2 separate regions of the Homo sapiens genome follow, and region 1 is linked to region 2. The links are contacts of gene promoters, found by promoter capture Hi-C in blood cells and fetal thymus (Javierre and others, 2016). All regions are on one chromosome and are shown on one strand. The core of a region is centred on a gene start or on the middle of the fragment in contact, and the rest is flanking DNA. Distances in the headings are between cores, read along the strand shown. Region 1 has its middle 21 kb from the start of GABARAPL1-AS1. Region 2 holds the start of EIF2S3B (eukaryotic translation initiation factor 2 subunit gamma B).

Region 1 (4,562 bases), core at 558-3,057, 270 kb before region 2:
TGCCTATGAGCCTGTAAAATCAAAAGCAACTTAGTTACTTCGTAGATACAATGAGGGTACAGGCATTGGGTAAATACGCCCATTCCAAATGGGATAAATTGGCCAAAATGAATGTGCTACAGGCCCCATGCAAGTCCAAAATCCAGTAGGGCAGTCATTAAATCTTAAAGTTACAAAATGTTTTCCTTTGACTCCATGTCTCACATCCAGTTCAGCCTGATGCATGAGGTGGGCTCCCATGGCCTTGGGAATCTCTGCCCCTGTGGCTTTGCAGGGTACAGCCCCACTCCTGGCTGTGCTTAGTGGCTGCAGCTTTCCCAAGCACATGTTGCAAACTGTCAATGGATCACCATTCTGGGGTTTGGAGAATGGTGGCCCTCTTCTCAGAGCTCGACTAGGCAGTGCTCCAGTGGAGACTCTGTGTGGGGGCTTCAACCCACATTTCCCTTCCACACTGCCCTAGCAGAGGTTATTCATGAGGGCTCCACCCCTGCAGCAAACTTCTGCCTGGACATTCAGGCATTTCCATACATCCTCTGAAATTTAGGTGGAGGTTCCCAAACCTCAATTCTTGACTTCTGTGCACCCACAGGCTCAAGACCACATAGAAGCCAACAAGGCTTGGGGCTTGCAGCCTCAGAAGCAATGGCCTGAACTTTACCTTGGCCCCTTTTAGCCACAGCTGGAGTTTAAGCAACTGGGATTCAGGGCACAATTCCCAAGGGTGCACAGAGCAGGGGGGGCCCTAGACCCAGCTCATGAAACCATTTTTCCCTCCTAGGCCTCCAGGCCTGTGATGGGAGTGGCTGCTGTGAAGGTATCTGACATGCCCTGAAGACATTTTCCCCATTGTCTTGGTGATTAACATTTGTCTCCTTGTTACTTATGCAAATTTCTGCAGCTGGCTTGAATTTCTCTCCAGAAAATGAGTTTTTCTTTTTTATTGCATGTTCAGGCTGCAAATTTTCCAAACTTTTATAGTCTACTTCCTTTTGAACAGTTTGCTGCTTAGAAATTTCTTCTGCTAGATACCCTAAATCATGTCTCTCAAGTTCAAAGTTCCACAGATCTCTACAGAAGGGACAAAACACCACCAATCTCTTTACTAAAGCATAGCAAGAGTCACCTTTGCTCCAGTTCCCAACAAGTTCCTCGTCTCCATCTGAGGCCACCTCAGCCTGGACTTCATTGTCCATATCACCATCAGCATTTTGGTCAAAACCATTCAACAAGTCTCTCAGAAGTTCCAAACTTTGCCATATCTTCTTGTCTTCTTCTGAACCCTCCAAACTGTTCCAACCTCTGCCTGCTACCCAGTTGCAAAATCGCTTCCCTTCTACATTTCCAGGTATCCTTATAGCAGTGCCTCACTTCCTCAATACCAATTTACTGTATTAGTCTATTTTCACACTGCTATGAAGAAATATTCGAGACTGGTTAATTTAAAAAGAAAAGAGGTTTAATTGAATCATAGTTCCACATGGCTGGGGAGGCCTAAGGAAGCTTATAGTCATGGCAGAAGGTGCATTCTTCACAGGCCGGCAGGAGAGAAAATGAGTGCCAGGAGAGGAAATGCCGGATTGCTATAAACCTATCAGATCTCATGAGAACTCACTTACTGTCAGGAGAACAGCATGGGGGAAACCGCCCCCATGGGTCCCTCGCATTACATGTGGGGATTATGGGATTATAATTCAAGATGAGATTTAGGTGGGGACACAAAGCCAAACTATATCATGCTACTTACGAGTGGAGGTTATAGCATAAGGCTTCTTTGTACATCTTTAAGAAAATAAGCCACCTGTCTTCTGTCATCTGTCTTCTATTTTGATCTGACTGAAAGACATTGCTAAGCTAGTTTGCAAGGCAGCTCCCACCTCTAATTCTTCCCTCCTACTCCTTTACAGTTCAGGGAGGCTTCATTTCCAAAACGAGTGTGGTCATTGTACTTCTGGCCACCAGGTGGCAGGCCAGATCCACTTAATAACACTGCAGCCTTAATCCTCACTGGCTGCAATTATTTTCCTTTTTAATCAATCTGTTATTAATAATAGTGTCACCTTTTTGTAAACAAAACCACAGAATTTTAACAATAGAGAAAAAATAAGAAGTAAGCTTGTTCATTGTCAATTTTTCTTTTTAAATCTTCCCCCAAAGGAGGAAGATGCATTGCACATTTTTGTTGACTCTGGTGTCTCTTTCAGCATCTAGATGAAATAATAACATTTCTGTTTTAGACAAATAGATATATTTCTTCTGTTCCAAAAGGTAACAGTGGGCTGGGTGTGGTGGCTCACACCTGCAATCCCAGAACTTTGGGATCCAAAGTGGGCAGATTACTTGAGGCCAGGAGTTTGAAACCAGACAGGGCAACATGGTGAAACCCTGTCTGTACTAAAAATACAAAAATCAGCTGGCTGTGGTGGAGCATGCTTGCAGTCTCAGCTTCTCTGGAGGTTGATGCAGGGGAATCGCTTGAACCCGGCGGGTGGAGGTTGTAGTGAGCTGAGATTGCACCACTGCACTCCAGCTTGGGTGACAGAGCAAGGCACTGTCTAAAGAAAAAGTGGATAGAGGAGGGTGAGGCAGGAAAAGGAAAAGGAAGTCAGCATTTCTGGAGCATCTTTTCTCAAACATTCCTTGTTTATTTGGGAGATTAAGTTTCTTCTGAGGATAAAAAAAGATTAGAAGTTAGATTGGTATTGTCTTAGGGGGAAAACAGGCAAGTAGAATGATAATAGAACTTTGTTGCCATAGAATATACAACTAAGTAATACTGTTTATAATGTTCCAATTTACTACAGGTTGTGCATGCAAGCAGTCCTCTGTTTATCTCCTCATCCTCCAGTGTCACATGTCAATTGCCCTGTCACTAACTAATCACAAACCACACTGGCCTTTTATTAGTTTCTTGAATGGCATTAAATTCTTTCTGTCTCAGTCAGGGCTGTGCACATACCTGGTATCTTCCACTGAACTGCTCCTCTCTTAGCTCTGTATAGCCAGCTCCTTCTCATACTTTGTCGTAACTTAAATATTAATAGAGGCAGGAGGCAGAGAAATCCTAGACAGACAGGGATGGGTCCCTGGGGAAACCTTACCTTCAGGTCAAAAACAGCCTGAAACCCACAGACCAGAGTGAGGACTTCCATTCCTGTTTGTTGGCTCTCTTCTTATTGGTTCTTTCTGAATAATGCCTTTTAACCAATTGAATGTTGCTTTTTCCAATACTACCTATGGCCCACCCTGCCCCCATCCTGTTCCTATAAAGGCCCCTGTCAGTGGAGGGGAGACAGCCTGACTTTGGGGAGGAGACAGCTTGACTTCAGGGAAACATGATCTGCTTTTCTGATACCCTCTCCAGCTCCCCTCTCCACTAGAGAACTGTTTTCATCGCTCAATAAAATTCTCCACTCTTACCATTCTTCAGTTGTCAAGTGTGACCTCATTCTTCTTGGACGCTGGACAAAAGCTTGGGACCCACTAAGTGCAGGTGGAGGCTGTCACACTGGCCCTTTGCCCTTGCAAGTGGAGGGCAACCACCCCACTGGCAGCTACAGGGTCAGTGGCCAACTGAGCTGCTAACACACAGCCGTTTATCGACTGTGGATGGTGGAACTAAAAGAGCTAAGTAGCACACTCACACCCCCTCTGGGGCTTTGGGATCATGGGCACCAGGCTGCCATGTTCCCCTCAAGGCAACATGACTGGTCTGGACATGGGCTTTGCATGGAGCTTGCTCCTGTATTGGTGCTTGGAGTGGCTGGCCAGATCCCATACTCACTTGCTTATGTGTTACCTCTCTCAAGGGGCGGAGCATGGTGGGCCGAGGAGATGGGGCACTCGTGCTAGGAGTCCGGCAAAAGGGCCAAGAAAAATCCTGCATGAATATTACAATCTCTGATCATCCAGTTAAAGTTTCTAGGGCCCCTCTGCTGTTGCTGTCAATCTCAAACACTTTTTTGTTTCATTTACAACACATATTGGAACTTGTATTATTTTGAATTTGCTTTTTAACTTAAATTTTATAATTTCTTTCATTAGAATATGGTTTCCATGAGGCCAGAGAACATGTCTGTTTTTCTTTTTTCTATTTTTTTTTTTTTTTTTTTTGAGATGGAGTTTTGCTCTTTGTTGCCTAGGCTGGAGTGCAATGGTGTGATCTCAGCTCACCGCAACCTCTGCCTCCTGGGTTCAAGTGATTCTCCTGCCTCAGCTTCCTGAGTAGCTAAGATTACAGGCATGAGCCACCACACCCAGCTAATTTCGTATTTTTAGTAGAGATGGGGTTTCTCTATGTTGGTCAGGCTGGTCTTGAACTCCTGACCTCAGGTGATCTGCCTGCCTCGGCCTCCCAAAGTGCTGAGACTATAAGTGTGAGCCATTGCATCTGGCCCTTTTTCATTCACTGAATAATTTCACTACTTTACAAATATGTGTCAGGCACTAGGCTAGCAGACACACACATAATATTTGTTAAATAACCATACCTTTCTAGAAGGAACTTCCCCTTTAAAGTTTTTCTATATACAAATTGAGAAACAGGTAGAAAGAATCCACAT
Region 2 (4,625 bases), core at 141-2,640:
TATGTTGGTAAGAATGTGAAGAAATTGGAACCCTAGCACATTGTTGATAAGAATGCACTATGAAAAAGGTGTATAGAGCTTCCTCAAAAATTAAGAGTAAAACTACCCATATAACCCAATAATATCACTTCTGGGTATACAGTATATCCAAAAGAATTAAAATTAGTATCTTGAAGAGATATCTGCACTCCCACATCAATGGTAGGATTATCAAGAATAAATAATATTTAAACAACCTAAATGTACACTGACAGATGAACAGATAAAGAAAATGTAGTATGTACATATGATGGAATATTCTTCAGCCTTAAAGAAAGAATATTCTGCCATTCATGACAACATGAATGACCCTTGAGGACATTAAGCTAAATAAAATAAGCCAGTCACAGAAGAACAAATGCTTTATGATTATACTATATGAGTTATCTAAAGTAGTCAAATTCATAGGAACAGAGAATGGTGGTTACCAGGGACTCACTTTCAATTGGTTAAGTTTCAGTTACGAAAGACGAATAAGTTCTAGAGATATACTGTACCACATAGTACGTATAGTTAGCAACAATACGTTGATCACTTTAAAATCTGCTAGGAGGGTAGATCTCATGTCAAGTGTCTTACTTGCCCTCTGCTCCCAAAATAAAGGTACTCAAGAAAAACTTTGTAGATGATAAACATGCCTACTATCTTCATTGGGTGATGGTATTACGAATGTATGCATATGTCCAAACTCATCAAATTGTATACGTTAAAAATGCACAGTTTTTTTGTATATAAACTATACCTCAATAAAGCTATTGTAATAAATCTCCAATATAGCATCTATTAATGGTCATCACTCCAACATAATTTGAAGAAATGAAAATTATAATATAAACCACGACATAGCTATTTGTTTCGAACAAAAAATAAATATATTAATAATTAATCTTCTTAAAGAAGAAAAATATTTAGTGTAGAATTATTCAGTGTGTTGCTGGTTTTGTGTCTTCTTAGAAATGTAATAGCAGGCTGTATATACAAGATCCATTTTCATATAAATAGATTACAATGGTCCATTAATTTTTTAAGTATTTATCTGTGGTCAACTGAAAATATATTTTCGACCCGCCTCGCATGGGCCCAGGGGGCGGGGGTTTGGGTGGCTGCCCTCAGTATTGCCTGCACAAATATCTACCAAGTCTGCGACGAATAGCTCCAGCAACTTTGCACCGTGTTTTCCAGTAAGCCTACCGACAGGCACTGTGCAGATTCAAGCAGAGAGAAGTCCAAGCACTGAGGCCGCTGCTGCACCGGCCATCCTGAGACCCTAGTCGACCTTCCGGCCTCCGCATCCCCGCCCCGCACTAGGACCCCTGCAGACGATCAGGCGGCAGCCGGGGTGACTTTCTTCCTCTTTTGGCAACATGGCGGGCGGAGAAGCTGGGGTGACTCTGGGGCAGCCGCACCTTTCGCGTCAGGATCTCACCACCTTGGATGTTACCAAGTTGACGCCACTTTCACACGAAGTTATCAGCAGACAAGCCACAATTAATATAGGTACAATTGGTCATGTAGCTCATGGGAAATCCACAGTCGTCAAAGCTATTTCTGGAGTTCACACCGTCAGGTTCAAAAATGAACTAGAAAGAAATATTACAATCAAGCTTGGATATGCTAATGCTAAGATTTATCAACTTGATGACCCAAGTTGCCCTCGGCCAGAATGTTATCGATCTTGTGGGAGCAGTATGCCTGATGAGTTTCCTACAGACATTCCAGGAACCAAAGGGAACTTCAGATTAGTCAGACATGTTTCCTTTGTTGACTGTCCTGGCCACGATATTTTGATGGCTACTATGCTGAACGGTGCAGCAGTGATGGATGCAGCTCTTCTGTTGATAGCTGGTAATGAATCTTGCCCTCAGCCTCAGACATCTGAACACCTGGCTGCTATAGAGATCATGAAACTGAAGCATATTTTGATTCTACAAAATAAAATTGATTTGGTAAAAGAAAGGCAGGCTAAAGAACAATACGAGCAGATCCTTGCGTTTGTCCAAGGTACAGTAGCAGAGGGAGCTCCCATTATTCCAATTTCGGCTCAGCTGAAATACAATATTGAAGTTGTTTGTGAGTACATAGTAAAGAAAATTCCAGTACCCCCAAGAGACTTTACTTCAGAGCCCCGGCTTATTGTTATTAGATCTTTTGATGTCAACAAACCTGGCTGTGAAGTTGATGACCTTAAGGGAGGTGTAGCTGGTGGTAGTATCCTAAAAGGAGTATTAAAGGTGGGCCAGGAGACAGAAGTAAGACCTGGTATTGTTTCCAAAGATAGTGAAGGAAAACTCATGTGTAAATCAATCTTTTCCAAAATTGTTTCACTTTTTGCGGAGCATAATGATCTGCAATATGCTGCTCCAGGCGGTCTTATTGGAGTTGGAACAAAAATTGACCCCACTTTGTGCCGGGCTGACAGAATGGTGGGGCAAATACTTGGTGCAGTCGGAGCTTTACCTGAGATATTCACAGAATTGGAAATTTCCTATTTCCTGCTTAGACGGCTTCTAGGTGTACGCACTGAAGGAGACAAGAAAGCAGCAAAGGTTCAAAAGCTGTCTAAGAATGAAGTGCTCATGGTGAACATAGGATCCCTGTCGACAGGAGGGAGAGTTAGTGCTGTCAAGGCCGATTTGGGCAAAATTGTTTTGACCAATCCAGTGTGCACAGAGGTAGGAGAAAAAATTGCCCTTAGCCGAAGAGTTGAAAAACACTGGCGTTTAATTGGTTGGGGTCAGATAAGAAGAGGAGTGACAATCAAGCCAACAGTAGATGATGACTGAAGAATACCGGTTAAATAATACATTCGGATGGAGCTGGAAGTTGCAATTTCTCTTTAACAACCAAGGGGTTTATTTTCAAAGCGATATTGGGGAATTGATTTCACAGTTTGTTACCTTAGTAGGTAACGGTAAGGTTATTCTCTCTTTTTTTTTTTGGTTATGAAAACTTAGGGACTACAATTAGTATAAAAATTGGCATAATGTTGGATTGAATCTACATTTTGGCAGAAGTTAAGCATTCCCACATAATGTCAAAATTATACATTATGCAGTTTTTTTGTTTGTTTTATTTTGTTTTGTTTTTGAGTCTGGCTTTGTCACCTAGGCTGGCATGTAGTGGCATGATCTGCAATCTCTGCCTCCCAGGTTCAAGCGATTCTCCTGCCTCAGCCCCCCAAGTAGCTGAGATTACAGGTGTGTGCCACCACACGGGGCTAATTTTTGTATTAGTAGAGACGGGGTTTCGGCATGTTGGCCAGGCCAGTCTCTCCTGACCTCAGGGTGATCAGCCCACCTCGGCCTCACAAAGTGCCGGGATTACAGGCGTGAGCCACCTTGCCTAGCCCACATCATGCAGTTTGAAATGAAACTTTGCCACAACCAGCCTTTGCTGTAGCACACACATATATCACTGAAACTGTTCGAAATAAAGTTTTTTTTTGTTTTTCATGATTCGTCTTTGAGTACCTCCAGGCTGAAGGACTGTTGTACCAGTAAAAACTTAAAGGCACAAATTATCCTTGAAGACCTTCTCCCTTTTCTTTGGCCCCATATTTTATGTTGCTTTATCTTTGAAATTTTGCATGAAAAGGATGCAATGAATGGGTTCGAATTGCATGAAAAGGATGCACGAATGGGTTCGAATGAAATTGTCCTTTAGAGCATGATTACTTGTTCCCATGGGCAAATAATTTTCTCCCCTTGCTCTTCCTGGCCTGAAATACGGGAAACTAGAGTCAGAAGTTATCTCCCTCTCCCTGTGATGCCTTGAGATGTTTTTCTGCATTGTTTTATGCCTGAAATCCAATAGTCTTCCTCCATTGGAAAATACTGTTATACCAAATAATTCTAGATGAGTAACAAAGATCCTTCTAGGCCTTCATTTTATGTTTTTTCTTAACTGTTATATGATTGTGACACAGATTATAATATTACTAATTTTTGGATGTTTCAAAAGGTCAATAAGTAAAAGATGTTAGAAAGCAAAAAAAAAAAAAAAAAAAAAAAAGAAAATATATTTTCTATCATGTTCTTCTGATAAAGTAATTCAAACTTTAACCAGCCCTGAAGACGGCATTGTGATTATACATCCCTGGGTTCTCCTGCTGACCTAAAGTAATATTAATCTCCATATATAACATTAAAATATATTCCCTTATTAGCTTAAGGGAATAAATGTGAATAATCAAATTTTTTCTTTTGTTAGTGTAGGGCAAATTAAAATTTTTCTGCTTTTTAAAGTTATGAAACCATAGACTCATAGAAAAAAAATTCTTCATATACAGGATTTAAGTATAAAAACTTGCGTGTACATATGTGTATATAAATTCTTAGAAAAGTTGTTAAAATCTCTTATATGTTAAAGCACATGAGAACCGTCAGATAAAATCTGACCTCCTTCAAAAAATCTAATATTTATGTGAGGGTAATATTAATACAATACTTATCTTCTTTGTTTCTCCATTTTATGTTGAGTGTTGAGGAGCAAATTAATTGTCTTTTAGAAAGTGGCATTCTTGCAGTGGGCAGCCTGTCTGCTACTTAGTGCTCTATTATTTCTCTATATCTATTGTTATTTTGTCC

Evidence for each region. Contacts are between HindIII fragments. The CHiCAGO score rates a contact against its expected background, and 5 or more counts as called.
Region 1: a fragment that was not itself captured here is called in contact with the fragment with the promoter of EIF2S3B in region 2 in 4 of 17 cell types (total CD8 T cells, naive CD8 T cells, endothelial precursors and 1 more); the score reaches 18.9 in total CD8 T cells.

What each region holds. Positions count from the first base shown.
Region 1 is chr12:10,233,990-10,238,551 of GRCh38, forward strand. No RefSeq gene overlaps it. Among named protein-coding and RNA genes, the nearest start is that of GABARAPL1-AS1, 21 kb to the left of the region's middle. The HindIII fragment of the contact is 612 bases long and covers 1,502-2,113 here.
Region 2 is chr12:10,504,500-10,509,124 of GRCh38, forward strand. It overlaps EIF2S3B (eukaryotic translation initiation factor 2 subunit gamma B), which reads left to right and starts at 1,391. Exons shown (of 1, transcript NM_001357734.3): 1 at 1,391-4,026. The coding sequence starts at 1,404. The coding sequence ends at 2,822. All of the region lies in intron 3 of LOC105369657 (a long non-coding RNA gene), which reads right to left. The HindIII fragment of the contact is 5,298 bases long and covers 1-1,641 here.